Regions from separate parts of the Homo sapiens genome. Here all the other regions are linked to region 1. The links are contacts of gene promoters, found by promoter capture Hi-C in human tissues and cell types (Jung and others, 2019). All regions are on one chromosome and are shown on one strand. The core of a region is centred on a gene start or on the middle of the fragment in contact, and the rest is flanking DNA. Distances in the headings are between cores, read along the strand shown. Region 1 holds the start of C15orf61 (chromosome 15 open reading frame 61). Region 2 overlaps SMAD3 (SMAD family member 3). Region 3 overlaps SMAD3 (SMAD family member 3).

The links. The method cuts DNA at HindIII sites, captures the fragments that hold promoters and counts their contacts. A contact is called where the count stands out against the background at its distance.
Region 2: a fragment that was not itself captured here is called in contact with the fragment with the promoter of C15orf61 in region 1 in 1 of the 25 tissues and cell types used here (dorsolateral prefrontal cortex).
Region 3: a fragment that was not itself captured here is called in contact with the fragment with the promoter of C15orf61 in region 1 in 1 of the 25 tissues and cell types used here (neural progenitor cells).

The regions. Positions count from the first base shown.
Region 1 is chr15:67,518,919-67,524,081 of GRCh38, forward strand. C15orf61 (chromosome 15 open reading frame 61) reads left to right here and starts at 2,213. Exons shown (of 2, transcript NM_001143936.2): 1 at 2,213-2,676. The coding sequence starts at 2,331. IQCH-AS1 (IQCH antisense RNA 1) reads right to left here and starts at 2,926. Exons shown (of 6, transcript NR_040052.1): 1 at 2,601-2,926; 2 at 82-184. RefSeq lists enhancers at 1,800-1,879, 2,520-2,639 and a silencer at 2,060-2,409. The HindIII fragment of the contact is 11,118 bases long and covers 1-5,163 here.
Region 2 is chr15:67,069,257-67,074,419 of GRCh38, forward strand. All of the region lies in intron 1 of SMAD3 (SMAD family member 3), which reads left to right. Among named protein-coding and RNA genes, the nearest start is that of SMAD3, 6.2 kb to the left of the region's middle. The HindIII fragment of the contact is 3,577 bases long and covers 821-4,397 here.
Region 3 is chr15:67,148,577-67,153,739 of GRCh38, forward strand. The region is part of intron 1 of SMAD3 (SMAD family member 3); the gene reads left to right. Among named protein-coding and RNA genes, the nearest start is that of SMAD3-AS1, 4.2 kb to the left of the region's middle. RefSeq lists enhancers at 1-563, 1,371-2,178, 4,702-4,871. The HindIII fragment of the contact is 4,294 bases long and covers 725-5,018 here.

The DNA of each region.
Region 1 (5,163 bases), core at 963-3,462:
GAAAATCCAAGACAACAACACACTGAAGTTTCATTGTTTTGTTTTTTATCTATAAAGTTAATATAAAAAATTTGAACTTACAGTTGGACATGGTGGCTTCTGTAATCCCAACGACTCAAGAGGCTGAAGTGAGAGACTGGCTTGAGTTCTGGACCAGCTTAAGCAACATAGTGAGAACCCACGCCTAAAAAATAAGTAAAATAAAAAGTTAAAAAAAGTTTGAACTTATGCTTAGTAATAAAGCATAAGTTATTTTTGTTTTTTTTGTTTTTTTTTGAGACGGAGTCTCGCTCTGTCGCTCAGGCTGGAGTGCAGTGGCACGATCTCAGCTCACTGCAACCTCTGCCTCCTGGGTTTAAGTGATTCTCCTGCCTCAGCCTCCCGAGTAGCTGGGACTACAGGCATGTGCCACCACGCCCGGCTAATTTTTCTATTTTTAGCAGACACAGGGTTTCGCCATGTTGGCCAGGCTGGTCTCGGACTCCTGACCTCAGATGATCCACTGGCCTCGGCCTCCCAAAGTGCTGGGATTACAGGCGTGAGCCACCGTGCCCGGCCTAAAGCATAAGTTTTAACCAACTTTATATGTTGGGGACCTTCAACAGATTTCGTTTGAAAAAGGACTCCACTCTTTTTCAAAATTTAATTTGGTCAGGTGCAGAAGCTCACACCTGTAATCCCACCACTTTGGGAGGCCGAGGCGGGCGGATCACTTGAGCCCAAGTGTTCAAGACCAGCCTGGGCAACATGGCAAAATTCCACCTCTACAAAAAATACCAAAAAAAGCAGCCGAGTGTAGGTGGCACACACCTGCAGTCCCAGCTACTTGGGAGGCTGAGGGTGGGAGGATCTCTTGAGCCCAGGAGGCAGAAGTTGCAGTGAGCCGAGATCGAGCAGCTGCACTCCAGCCTAGACAACAGTGAGATCCTTTCTAAAAAAAAGAAAAGAAAAAGAAATTCTATAAAGTTCAAGTTCTATAAGGTAAAGTTCAACTTCAAATTCTGTAAGGTAAAGTTCAAGATTCGGCATATGTTGGTGGGTGCTCAATGTTCAATAAAAACTGGGGAATAGGCCTGGTGCAGTGGCTCACGCCTGTAATCCCAGCACTTTGGGAGGCCGAGGCAGGTGGATCACGAGGTCATGAGTTTGAGACCAGCCTGGCCAACATGGTGAAACCCCGTCTCTATTAAAAATACAAAAATTAGCCAGGCGTGGTGGTGCACGCCTGTAATCCCAGCCACTCGGGAGGCTGAGGCAGGAAAATCACTTGAACCTGGGAGGCAGAGGTTGCAGTGAGCTGAGATTGCACCACTGCACTCCAGCCTGGGCAACAGAGTGAGACTCCGTCTCAAAAAAACAAAACAAAACAAAACAAAAAACTGGGGAATATAAAATTTCGCCATACTATCCTACATCCCCCTTGAGTTTTTAGCAACGATAGTAATTGTTATATGATGCTTAACGCGTAATTACTGTACCTCATTTACATAAGGTGGTTTCAGACACATCATCTTGTTTATGTATGGCCTCTCCAAACAAAATGAGTTTAGGACAAAAGAGGAAATCCTTTTCTAAAAGCAGTTTTGTCCGTAAGTTACTGCCTCAAGAGGCCGCAAAGTTTGAGCAAAGCTTTTCCGAAAGTAATGGATTGGTAATGGGTGACTGAGGTCCACAAAGCTCGATAAGAGGCTCCTGGTCCGTCTACCAGGTTCTTAGAGGGAGGTGCCTTTGTGTGTTCGGACGCTGCACTGAGACACGTGAGGTTTTTAAATAAACTTTTGATTTTGAAATCTCTGGGACTAATTTTAAACAGTGAACCCGACAGCGAGGACCTACACACAAAAGTGCTCCCGGCCTTACCAAACAACGCAGACCCGGGGTCACGCCTCGTCCTGTTTCAACAACAACACCCAAGGGCTTCCCTGGAGCCCAGGGCGTGGGAGGGAGACTTGGGTTTGAGTTCTGCACCTTGCGGAGGTGGTTAGTTATTTAATTGTCTTCCACCTGAATTTTCCTCAGGCCCAAATTGATGAGACCTCCCCGAATCCCTCCCCTGCCCGAGTTACTAATGACGGCGTGAGGTCACACCTGGCCACTCAAAACCAGCTCCTTGACGCAGGTGACCCTCCGCCTCGCGCAGCTCACGCTTCCCATCCCCCGGACTCCACCCCCAGCGGGAGGCCACGGGGCCGCTGTGCGCACGCGCCGCCGCACACCGGGGGCTCTCGGGCACCCGCGCGGCGCCGGTTGGCCTTCCCGGCGCTCGCCCGGGGGCGCGCTTGCGCGCCAGCGGCTGCGGACACCAGCCTGCGTCCCCGGCGCGGCGGGCCATGGAGGCCCTGAGGAGGGCCCACGAGGTCGCGCTCCGCCTGCTGCTGTGTAGGCCGTGGGCCTCGCGCGCCGCCGCCCGCCCCAAGCCCAGCGCCTCGGAGGTGCTGACGCGGCATCTGCTGCAGCGGCGCCTGCCGCACTGGACCTCCTTCTGCGTGCCCTACAGCGCCGTCCGCAACGACCAGTTCGGCCTCTCGCACTTCAACTGGCCGGTGCAGGGCGCCAACTACCACGTCCTGCGCACCGGCTGCTTCCCCTTCATCAAGTACCACTGCTCCAAGGCTCCCTGGCAGGACCTGGCCCGGCAGAACCGCTTCTTCACGGCGCTCAAGGTCGTCAACCTCGGTGAGTGGCGACTGCCGCGCCCACGCGGTGAAGCCCGCCCGGCCGGGACGGCCCCTCAGCCACCGAGCACGTGACGAACGCTCGCAGGCCGGTAGAGTCCCGCGGGAGTCAGCTCTGCCTCCCGGCGCCGGCTTCGCCTGGGGTCCTTTGTACTCCTCGCCCAGGGGGTCCCCAGCTTGCTGAGCTCCTGGCACCCGAAGCCGTTCGCCTGCTGCGGGCGCGTCCTCGGGCCTAGGGAGGGGCGGGTCGCCCTCCTGTCCTGCCCATGTTAACCAGAGTAGACCCCTGGCCTGGGCAGTAAGCCAGGGGGCGTCAGGAAACGCCCCCTAGAAAGTGGCTCTGAAGTTGACATCCGTCCTACTGCATGGCAGGACTCATTCCCGTGAACATCACTTTGCAGCTGCGTTTATGTTGCAATAACTGGAACTACTCTTTTAAGTTTCTTTTGTTTTCTTTGTATGAATTCCCGGCAAGTTCGTTTTACTAAAAGCACCAAAGGTTTTCACCAGACATAACAGCTTCCTGAGGTGCTAGGCCTAAAAGATTTTTAAAGATCTTTAATATTTGTATATTTTCATGGAGACGCCCTGAGGATGTTTACTGTCACTAGGTGTTTATTTTCTTTTGGTTTAATGACAGAAGAGGGAGGTACGAACATGGACATGGGTGTATCTTTTATAGGTCAGGGGAAAACAGAAGGCCTCAAGATGTTTTGAACTTACTAATAGCTGGCATAAAATCAATCTAGATTTCAGTGATTCAAAATCTAGCCATGGAGCTGAATGAACCATGTTACCCAGCCAGGTTTTTAAAGCCAGGATTAAAACTAAACCCTGCGCAGCCGTACTACTAATACTATTACATAATCTGATCGTCCATTAAGGTTAAAAATAGTCTGTGTATTTGTGCTTATAATAACACATATGTCAGTCGTGGGCTTTTTGAGCCGTTACTCCACTGGACTGTCCTGTAAGGAGATAATTGTTTAGCAACGTGTTATCCTTTAAAAATGCCTCTTATTATTTGGCTGATGGACTGTATAGAGCATGCCCACTACTTTGGAGGTTGGTTGAAGTTGAAGGGTGAGGTGACTTAGGAAATTCAATTCGAAATTATTTGGAAAGACTGGAGTGTTAACTAGATTCGAGAAGTATAAGTTTATTTTAGCATTTTTCATAAGTAAGAAATCATTCTTCCCTAAAGAATAATAGGTTAGGAAAAGCATAACGGGAGAGTTATAGGTAAACCATGAGCCAAATGCCTTTTTTTCCTTTAAAGTCACATTTTTAGTGTTGACATTTTGTTTAAGAGCACCTTAATGATTAGGGGCCTCTCTTTTAGATTTAGAGATTAAGACATCCAAAAAAAGTGGATACTCAGAACATTCCACACATAGAAAAGTAAAACCTTTTAAAGTTGAAAGAAACAACAGTTGTAGTGTTTTTTGTTTTGTTTTGTTTATTAATGTGGGAGAGTGATTTAATGGTCTGTATGGTCTTTTGGACATTCTAAAAATCCTGCTAAAATGGGAGTAAGAGTTCTAAGTTAAGCAAAAAGGACAACTTTTTGCTCATGCATGCTTTAATACAAATTGGGATATACTGATAAAGGGAATTAAAAAATATTTTAAAGTGGTGAACACATCTGGTAACGTTTATTTTTAATTTTTGTCTGAAGGTAGAGGGGATGTGAATTAGATAATAGGTCCTTTCCTATTCTGTGAGGTACAATCGTCTCTCTGGGTGATAAAGTACATATCCTATTAATATTATACTTAGGATTTTGTTCCTCTTCTTCCCTTCCAAATTCATTTTTCCATTTTGTAAATAATAAAGATTTCTGTTTACCCATTTGCTCCTTTTCTCCTCCGTCTTCCCTTCAATGGAAGCTGACATTTTACTGATGGTTTACCAGTCTAGGTATCCTGCTGAGAAGTAGATTGAGATTTAAGAAAAGCAACTTACCATTGGAATGAATGAGATTTACTGAGGAATTCTAATTTTTTAAAGTGCTTAATTTGACAGTGGTTTACCTACTGTTCAGCTGACTCAAAGTGAATTATTATGCAAAGAACTGATTTGGAGGTTCTTTTGATGTTACATGTTTCAGATATAAATTTAATTTTTCAGAAAAAATTGAATTTTTCATAGAATCTTATAGACTTCAAAGCATGTGTGCTACAAAGATTTTGTAATATATAAGTTATATAGGTGGCAAACCTTCCCATTTTGAGTATTAGTCTGACTGCATTAAATAAACAGACAGCAAGGGGAAAAAAATACAGAATTTCTGACTCAGATCATAACTCCATCTCCTGTCAAACAGCATCACTGCTAATGGTTGCTGGTTATTTTTTAATAAGACATAATATAGTTATTAAGCTAGTAATCTTTGATCAGCCCTTGATTTTAGCTGAAAATATATTGACCGTTTATTTCTGTATTTGTGATTTTTCAAAAGTATGAATTTTTTAAATCAATATGTTAA
Region 2 (5,163 bases), core at 1,359-3,858, 450 kb before region 1:
AAGAGCTTCATTTAGATACACCAACAAAGGGGCTGTCAGGATACTCTGAGGTCTGGCAGGATTGGCAGAATTTACACAAGTTTTATAACAGCCTCTCATGCCTCACCTGCTTGAGTACCTGAGTAAAGCTGCAGGTATCTTCCTTGCCAGTTTATAAGAATGGAATCAAAGCATTTGCCGCTGAATGAGAGTTGGTGTGTGAGCGTTATATGAGGAATAAGGAGCTCGGCACACTTAAAACTTAGTTTTCTGGTAGACACTGGTAGCTTGTACTTCCACCAGGGAATCCATGCCTTGGCCTCGTTGTTGGGAGCTAGACCAAGCTTAAAGCATTGCTTGTTTGGAAGGGAATTTGGGCTTTCTTGTGTCAGAGCACCCAGTCCAGTGGAAAATTGGAGAATTGAAGCAAACACTAGGTCTGACACACAGCATCTACTCCCTCCCTGTGAATCTGATGTTTTTTTTTTGGAGACAGAGTCTTGCCTTGTTGCCCAGGCTGGAGCGCAGTGGCATGATCTTAGCTCACTGCAACCTCTGCCTCCCGGTTCAAGCGATTCTTGTGCCTCAGCCTCCCGAGTAGCTGGGATTACAGGCGCCCGCCACCACGCCCAGCTAATTTTTGTATTTTTAGTAGAGACGGGGTTTCACCATGTTGGTCAGGCTGGTGTTGAACTCCTGACCTTGTGATCTGCCCGCCTTGGCCTGCCAAAGTGCTGGGATTACAGGCGTGAGCCACCGCGCCTCACCGAATCTGATCTTTTACTGTAGCCTCCTCTTATTATCTCCTTGACTTTTGCCAGGGTACTCTCACTTTGAGAAAGGAAAAAGATCCTAGTCTTTAACATGCCTTTTCCAGATTTCTGGGGATAGACCTATTACTAAGGCTGTAGAGGCCTCCCTTTTCTCTTGGCTGCACTTCAGAGCACCATGCCCGTGTGGCCCATTGGAAGCAAGCCCCCTTCCAGCTGCTAGGGAGGTGGTCCATTATCTCTTTGCTCTTGTTAAGTTTGATTAGGGGAGTTCCACGTAGGGCCTGAGAAGAGGAGGTGCCTGCAGGACAATAGGTAGCTGATGAGGGATCTGACTCAGCTGCAGCTGAACCTAGGCGCCACTTGACGTTCCCTGGGAACATTTAGAACCTTGGAACATGCTGCTTGCACCTGGGAGTGGAATGTTTGCAGACAGCCCCTCTGTTGTTACAGGGCTGGATTTTGTTGATTTATTGATATTTATTGGACCCTCCCATGTCTGAGTCAATTTTTTAGGTACCAGAGGAGGATGCAGAGACACGTTTGAGAAGCTCCCAGCCTGTGAGAAGCTTACACATCAGTAAGGGAAACATGAATAGGGCATTATTTGAGTATCTAACTGCTATCTCTTTCTCATTCCCAGCTACCAGTAGAAATATGAGATCTAGTATGGATGATTTTTGATGGGGGCGGGCGTTGATGTGCCTTTTAAATATTGTAGAATTCACTATGTTAGGAAATAAAATAATGACAGGCATCTGTTTTTTTCTGAAAAAAACACAAAATTCAGGTCCTGTACCTGCCATTTTACCACCTGCAAGGATTTGGGAATCCATTTAAGTTTCACAGCTTTTATATCTGCACCTGTCAAGTCAGGATGAGATAAGTTCTGTGGAAGTGTTTTGTGAACCAGAGAATTTGACAGGTATGTTACGTTTATACTTCATTCTGCATCATTCATTCATTATTGAATTATTCAGTCCTTCGTTGAGAACATACTACAATGACCACAGCAGGGTCCCTGTACTCAAAGAGCTCCCTGTCTAGAGCGGGAGACAGACTTGCCCAAAGGTATGAGGCATGAGCTGCAGCTGAGGAATGTGCTAAGTGCCCAGCAATGTGGAAACACAGTTAATTCTGTGGGAGGAGGTGTAGAGAGGAGGAGAACCCATGAGAGGTGGAAAACTAAGAAGGGGACAAGGGTTATCCAAAGGAAGCTTTTTGGACTGCAGTATGATGTTGGGAACTTTTTGGTACATGGGGATAGTTCCCTATAAGAATGAGGACGTCTTTATCCTCTTTTACTAAACTGAGTGCTGCTATAAATATGTTACCTTGTAACTGGCACTGAACAGCTAGTGACTTGGGTGCTATATTTTACTCCACTGTAAAGCATTTTCTCTTTGAAGTAAAAAGTAAGTTAGTACTGCAAACTGAAATTCAGGTTTCCTTGGTGGGAACAGGGACTTTAGATGTATCAGCTCAGAATATGACAGGGAGTGTTAATAAAAAGTGGACAACTTGGCTGGGCACGGTGGCTCACACCTGTAATCCCAAGCACTTTGGGAGGCCGAGGCAGGCGGATCACGAGGTCAGGAGATCACAACCATTCTGGCTAACACGGTGAAACCCTGTCTCTACTAAAAATACAAAAAAATTAGCCGAGCTTGGTGGCAGGCGCCTGTAGTCCCAGCTACTCGGGAGGCTGAGGCAAGAGAATGGCGTGAACCCAGGAGGCGGAGCTTGCAGTGAGCCGAGATCGCGCCACTGCACTCCAGCCTGGGCGACAGAGCGAGACTCTGTCTCAAAATAAATAAATAAATAAATGAAAAGTGGACAACTTGCAGATGGTTGTTTTGAAATTCAAAGCTTCGGTGTGACCTAGCTTCTCATTTCTCTAGTTAACACTTGCTGAGAATAAATCCTAGACGCCTGAGTTTCTGAATGAACATAGGTGCTTTTAGTGGTATATTTTTTAAAAAGTCTTTGCAAGGGTGAAGTTTTAAATGACAATTTTAATAACAGAAAAATATGAATACAGTCGCATTTAATTCTGATGAGAAATGCAAGAAGTTGATGAAATTGAAAGAATTTGTTTCAAGCTTATCACATCAGGAATCCAACTAAATGAGTTAAAAAATAAATATTGGTTTAATAATGTAAACATGTGATTGCTGTATTATTATAATGGAATAAAATTAACACGATTTAATGAACTGAGCGACCATTAATTTTTACTTGTTAATTTATTAGGAGATTTTAATGCCATTTGATGCACAGTACAGCCATTATTCTGCGTGAGCTCCTTAATGAAATAAATAAGACCAAGCAGGGCTTGCTTCAAATTGGAATCAGCTTTCATTCCTGTTAACCTTATTCTCCCACCTTTATTCACCTCTCCTTCAGCTTCCTGTAATTGCAATTAAGTTCTCTAAGATTGGAATGCAGTTTTCTTAATCAGCAAGTCTCATCAATAGTCCTAATTGACTTTTGCCCTTTTCTCCTTTGCCATATTGACTGATTAAAACAAAAGCAAAACTTAAAGACTCCATTCCCTCCCCCAAATCCCCATCTCATAGTGTTGGTTGGCTGGCAAGAGAACTGCCCAAGAAGGCTGCTCATGATGGCAGCCTGCTGAATGTGCAGGGGGTGGAAGTTCACCAGCCATGTGCAGACGTGAATGGCTGGTGCAGTGTTGGATGGGACTAACTCCTCCCTAAGGAGGGGTATGACCTTCTGTTGGCCTCTGACAAGTCCCTGAGCCATGGAGCCTTCAGTCTTCCCATCTTCAAGCACAATGGTTCCTGGAAACAGTGGGAAGTTGCCATCCTAAGCCCACCCTACAGAAGTTTGGTTTCTAATTTTACTGTGTTCTAAGCTTTAGAACCGAGACAATTCCAAGAGAACTTGTCCAGTTCATTTTTATGCCTTCCTTTAATGCCGTACCAGGTGCTAATTTCTGTGCCAGATAATGCGGACAAAATAGTGAATAAGGCAGATACTGTCCCTGGTGCCTTCTGTAGCTTCTAGTCCACTGGCTGTGAAACACAGGTTCTTTGGAGTTGTAAGAATGCTGTATGTGTTCACTCTTTAGCTAATTTGTAAATACTGTTTTTTTGGTGCCAAACCACATCCCCCAAGCTCTGCAGTTTATTGACTTGACAAGGATCTCTCTCTCTCTTTCTCTTTCTCTCTGTATAACATAATCCTTTGTTTCGACTTAACAGTTTGAGAAATAAACAAATCTATAGCATACTATCCACTGTTGGTTATCTAAGACCCTTCCTATAAACAGCAGCCTGCCACAGTGGCAACTGCTGTAGAATGTTTTGGCAGAGACTCAGTTTAAAATGAAAACACAGTAGAAGCCTATTAATTAAGAAGTTTGGCTAATTCTGGACTAGGCAAAAGTTTGTTTAGCAGGCCTTTTTGCCCCATAAATGCTGTCAAAGAAAAATTAATAAACAAGAGTTTGGGGATTATTTTGGAGGTAGGAGTCAGCAGACCTTGGTAGGTTCTAGACGTGGCTCTGTTTCTGATTAGCTGTGTGACCTGGGACAAGTCACCTTCTTTGGGCCTCGAATGTTCTCAACTGGAAAATAGGCTAGATAAACTCTATTGGAGGGCCTTTCTAACTTGGAATTGGTATTCATACAAGCATTTTATTTTATTTTATTTTATTTTTTGAGATGGAGTTTCGCTCTTGTTGCCCAGGCTAAAGTGCAATGGCGCGGTCTTGCCTCACTGCAACCTCCGCTTCCCAGGTTCAAGTGATTGTCCTGCCTCAGCCTTCTGAGTAGCTGGGATTACAGGCATGTGCCACCACACCCGGCTAATTTTGTATTTTTATCAGAGACCAGTTTCGCCATGTTGGCCAGGCTGGTCTCCAACTCCTGGCCTCAAGTGATCTGCCCGCCTCGGCCTCCCAAAGTGCTGGGATTCCAGGCCTGAGCCACCGCGCCCGGCCACATACAAACATTTTAAAAGCTCCCAGTTGCACGCATCTAGTTGATCAGTGAATGACAGATCTTTCTTAATTATTGATGTTCCAAGACTCTATCAGCCTGGTGTCAATTAATTTACATAAGTAAAAATAATAAAATTGTAATTCAGCCTTTAATTTTGGTGATTTCCCTCCCTCTTCCTTGCCTCTTCCTTACTCTGTGAGTCTAAATCAGTGAAATTTAACTACAAAGGAATATGAAAATAATGCTAGGATGAAGATGTGGAGGCTGTGCCTCTTGAGATGCAGTGAACAGTTTTTCTTCTTTTGTTGCTATTTTTGACTATTCTAAGAACAGGAAGTTTACTTAAACTAATGACCACAGATGCCTAAAAATGGTTAAATGTAAGAGGTAGGCATTATAGAGGATACCTGTGGAAAATGTTTGCTCATATGTCAAAGTTTACCCAG
Region 3 (5,163 bases), core at 1,622-4,121, 370 kb before region 1:
CGCCTAACTGGCACCTGTGGCTGTCATTCCCCTGCTGTTTTTAATTGCACCTCTCAAGACCAGCTGATTGCTTAAAGAACATTTCTGGTATTGGGCCCATGGCAGTAATGTGCGTCTGTGGATCCCTTTGCTATGAGGCTTGACTTCTTGATCGGGTTCACAAGGCTGGTGGGCAGCCTGAGATCTTTGCTTATTTCCTACGTCTTCTGAAAGGTACTATGAAGCTTACCAGTTGCTGATGCACGCTATCAGCTAATAATTCCATTACCATTACTATTTTCTGAGCAAATGTGACCTGCAAGCCCCTCGCTCCATCCAGGATGCAGGCAAAGTTAAGCTAGGTTTCCTTTCCCTCAAGGAGCTCCTGGCACAGTTGGGAAGGGAAGTCAGAAACACACAGAAGTCACTTCATCATACCAGGCCTTTGGTGCTAAATGATGATGAATTTGAAGAGTGTGGGACAGTGGGGATGGTGGACTGTAAGAGTTCGAGGAGGGGAGGATGGAGAGAGGTCATTCTTAGCAGAGAGCCACAGAGTGGGTTACTGTTTGAGCTGGAAGATAATTGGACCTCCAAGGGCTCTGTCCCCACCTGCACCTCAGCGCACTATGCTGGTGGCCAAGAGTGCAGGAGCCTCACATTCAGATACTGTGGCTGCAACATTTTACCTCCACTACTTGGGCCTGTTCAGCATTTTGAGTTTCTATGCCTGTAAATTAGGCCTGTCTAGGAAGTGGGGGTGAGGTGGTGGGTGGGCAGGTGCTCTGAATCTCAGCTGGGACTGGGTGGGCTGATACCGGGGAGAGTTGTAAGTATCTAGGACCCAGCGGGAGGACGCCTCACCTGGAACCCTTTGCTTGTTCCTGATTGTAGCTGTTTTAGGGATGCAGCTTTCAGACAAGGGCCACTTAGTTGATGAGGCCGGCTTAATCGAGGAGGGCTGTTGCCACCCTGACATTGTTAAGTGTGGGCCTGGCTTCTCTGAAGTCCTCCTTTCTTGCTTGTGTGGAATTCCTGTTTTCCTGCCCATAGGGGTTCTTTGCTGTCTTAGGTGAATTGCCCCAATGAACCAGAACCTTTTTTTTTTTAGGTACAATAGGAGGTCTGTACCCTTAGACAGAAAGGAATGCTAATTGGCCACTTAACTGTCCTCAGGGTACAGATGCCAGAATATACAGGGCACCCATTCTTTGTTACCATTTGGGATGGAAACTGCTTATATAAGCTTGTAAAGCTTTGGTTCAGAAAGCAAGAGAATGTGTATGGAACGTTAGCAATTGCTGTCATGCAAATGCTGCATTTTTTGCATGTAAAGGTACCTCTTTACCTCCATGGTCCTTAAACTAACTTTTTCAAGAAACATGGTCATTTCCCACCCTTCCTTTACTTCCAGCTCCCCATTCATACCCAACAGTGGCTAACTGAAAGGTTTGCAAATCCTGAAGGCTTTGGGGCTTCTTTTAAAAAGAAGAGACTGAGTTGTAAATGTCATAAGACTGAGATGGTTGTAAATGTCCCAACCATACTGTGTGACATTTGCTAGGAATTGTTGTAAAATCACTGGAGTGAGCGCTTGTCCTGAGGCACTGCCTCTCCGCGTGAATGTCACTGAGTCGCCCGGTTGACCCGTTGCATGTTATGCAGCACTTGTGACATTGTTTTATCTCTCTAGCCGGTGACTCATAATTAAGGAAGTCAAAACTGTGCAATTAACACAAAACCTCCTCATTTGCCCTCTTCACCTCTCCCCAACCCCCGCCCCCAGTCAGGAATGCCCGCCTGACATTTTCTCTAAGTCTTTGGAAACTTTAAGATTTGTTTTGATAGAACAAGGCCGCCAGTTATCATCGCCTGGTTCCACTTGTTTTACCCCAAAAGTCTGTGAGAATCTTTTCCAGGAAAAAAAAGAAAGAAAGAAAGAAAGTAAATCCCACCCCCAAGCGTGCAGTCTGCCCACAGGAAGTGATTCATGGTGCTCCGATTCGGGCAGACCTGACTGCAGGAGGCGGGAGGCTGGGAACCAGGTCTGGGAAAAGAGGGCAGAGAGAGGATACCCAGACCTAATGGCTTCTGCTCTGTGGAAGAAAGTGAAAAACAGAATGACTAAGAGTCCTGTAATAAGAATTGTTTGTTTTGTGAAGTTGAACTAATAGTGAGGTTTGCCGGCAGATAAGACTTGAGAAATTGCAGTTGTCAGGGGAGGGGACTTTTCCATGTCCTGCTTTTTTTTTTTTTTTTTTTTTATTAAGAGAGCAAAGCTATTTCTCAGTCTTTTTTTTTTTTTTTTTTTTTTTTTTGAGATGGAGTCTCTCTCTGTCGCCCAGGCTAGAGTGCAGTGGCACAATCTCGGCTCACTGCAACCTCCACCTCCCAGGTTCAAGTGATTCTCTTGCCTCAGCCTCCCCAGTAGCTGGGATTACAGGTGCCCACCACCATGCCTGGCTAATTTTTTTGTATTTTTAGTAGAGACGGGGTTTCACCATGTTGGCCAGGTTGGTCTTGGAACTCCTGACCTCAGGTGATCTGCCCACCTTGGCTACCCAGAGTGCTGGGATTACAGACGTGAGCCACCACGCCAGGCCTTATATCTCAGTCTTAAGACATTCATATATTAGTGGAAGGCCCAGATTTGTGTTTCAGTTCTACCTTGCCACCTCTAAGCCTGTTTTCTTTTCTTTGGAGAAGAGGGTCTAAGATGAGACCATTATCTCACAGTCTCCAATAGCTCTTTCTCCCCATTTTCCCTTTTATTTATTTATTTATTTATTTATTTTGAGACGGAGTCTCTCTCTGTTGCCCAGGCTGGAGTGCAGTGGCACAATCTCGGCTCACTGCAACCTCCACCTCCTGGGTTCAAGCGATTCTCCTGCCTCAGCCTCCTGAGTAGCTGGGACTACAGGCTTGCGCCACCATGCCCGGCTAATTTTTGTATTTTTAGTAGAGACAGGGTTTCACTATGTTGGCCAGGCTGGTCTCGAACTCCTGACCTTGTAATCCACCCACCTCAGCCTCGCAAAGTGCTGGGATTACAAGCATGAGCCATTGCACCCAGGCTATTTTCCCTTTTTCCTTTCCCTCTAAAGTTAGAGTTTTTGAAAAATATTTGATTTTTTTAAATTGACAAATAATTGTCCATATTCATGGGATACATAGTGATGTTTTGATACATATTAATGTCATTATGGTGATCACATCAGGTTAATTAGCATCTCCATCCTGTCAAGCATTTATCATTTCTTTGGGTTGGAAGCATTCAATATCCTCCTTCTATTTGAAACTATGTAATATATGAATGTTACTATGTATGTTACTATATAAGCATTCAATATTCTCCTATTTGAAACTATGTAATATATGATTATACATAGTAACAATCATATATTACATAATAATTGTAAACTATGTAATAATAATATTGTAATATATGATTGCTAGATATTTGAAGCTATATAATATATTATTGTTAAGTATAATCATCTTACAGTGGTTTAGGACACTAGAACTGATTTTTCCTCTTTAGCTGTAATTTTGAGACCTTTAACAAATTTCTCCCCATCCCTCTGTTCCCTTTACACTTTTCAGCCTCTAGTATCTTCTATTCTGTTTTTACAAAGTTAGAGTTTTGGGGCTGATAAATGTTTTTACCTAAATACTCATTTTTGTTTCCACCAAATGGAACATCATGTTGTCGTAGAATGAAGGAATCCTTTCTGTCCTATGGGTTATTTTCTTCTCCCTCAAACTGACAATGCAAATTAATTTGATTCCCCAAAGTAGTTTGGAAACAGAGAAGACTCTAAGTGTTGGCTACATGAACAGGCCTGCTGCCGAGCGAGAGGCCCAGATCACCCAGAATGAGAAGATGGGTCTAAACACACCTGGCTTTGTGACTTACTCCATTTCAAGCTTCCTGTATTGTTGGAGGTCAGCTTTTGGGGGTGAGGGATTTTAATGAAAGCTGAGGTGAAGTCCACTGTTGCCTTAAGCCCATCAGAACGTTGCCAAGGGCTGTGAGTATGCTGAATGGGTCCATGAGTGATCTCTTAAAAAAACATAAACCATTGTCAGGCCTAATTTTCAGCAGAGTGAAATGGCCACCCAGAAGATTCTGTGAAGCCTGGCAACTTTTCCCTTTCTTCCAGTAGTCACAGACCAACCCAGATCTTTGTAGCATCTTTTATTTGTGACTTGAAAGTTCTATGATCCTGCTGACACTCAAGAAAAAGCAATCCCCATCAACTTGGTGCTTGGAGAAAAAAGTTTGTGAAGACCAAAGCTATTAAATAGAAAAGCCCTAAACACTCTCCTCCTCCTCCTCCTTCAATATTTAACCGTCTTCTTTGCATGGGGGAAGGGAGGGGCTCTCACCACAGCCAAAAGAGAATCTCTGCTGATTTAAACCCAGTGTGCTTTGTAGTCATAGAGAACTGAGTTTGGAGTGTAACATCTAGGTTCAAGCCCAGGCACTGTTCCTTGCTGGGTGACTTTGGGCAAGTCACTCAGCATCAAAAATTTTTCATCTGTAAAATGGGAGTGATGAGATACTCAGCCTGCAGGATCCCTTTATCCAGTGAGTTACTGAGTGAGAAGTGCTGGGTAAACGCTTGCTCTGAGGTGTAAATTGCTTCTGTTTGGCCAGGTGCAGTGGCTCACGCCTGTAATCCAAGCACTTTGGGAGGCTGGGGCAGGTGGATCACCTGAGGTCAGGCGTTTGAGACCAGCCTGGCCAATATTGTGAAACCCCGTCTCTACTAAACATGCAAAAATTAGCCAGGCGTGGTGGTGCATGCCTGTAATCCCAGCTACGCAGAAGGCTGAGGCAGGAGAATCACCTGAACTGGAGGTTGCAGTGAGCCAAGATCACTCCGCTGTACTCCAGCCTGGGCAACAAGAGCAAAACTCCGTCTTGGGGGGCGGGCGGGGGGGATTCCTTCTGTTTTCCCGCATCTTGCTCATCTCAGAGCATTTCCTTAGCCCAGGGGGATCTCAAGGGGAGGGAAGAGAGCAGATTTGCCCCCCAGGGGACATTTGGCAATGTTTAGAGGTATTTTTTTTCAGTTGTCACAGCTGCAGGTGGGTCACAGCTACCGGCATCCAGTGTGAGGGAGCCAGACATGCTGTTAAGCATTCTATATCTGTCTCTACACAGGACAGCCCCCTAGC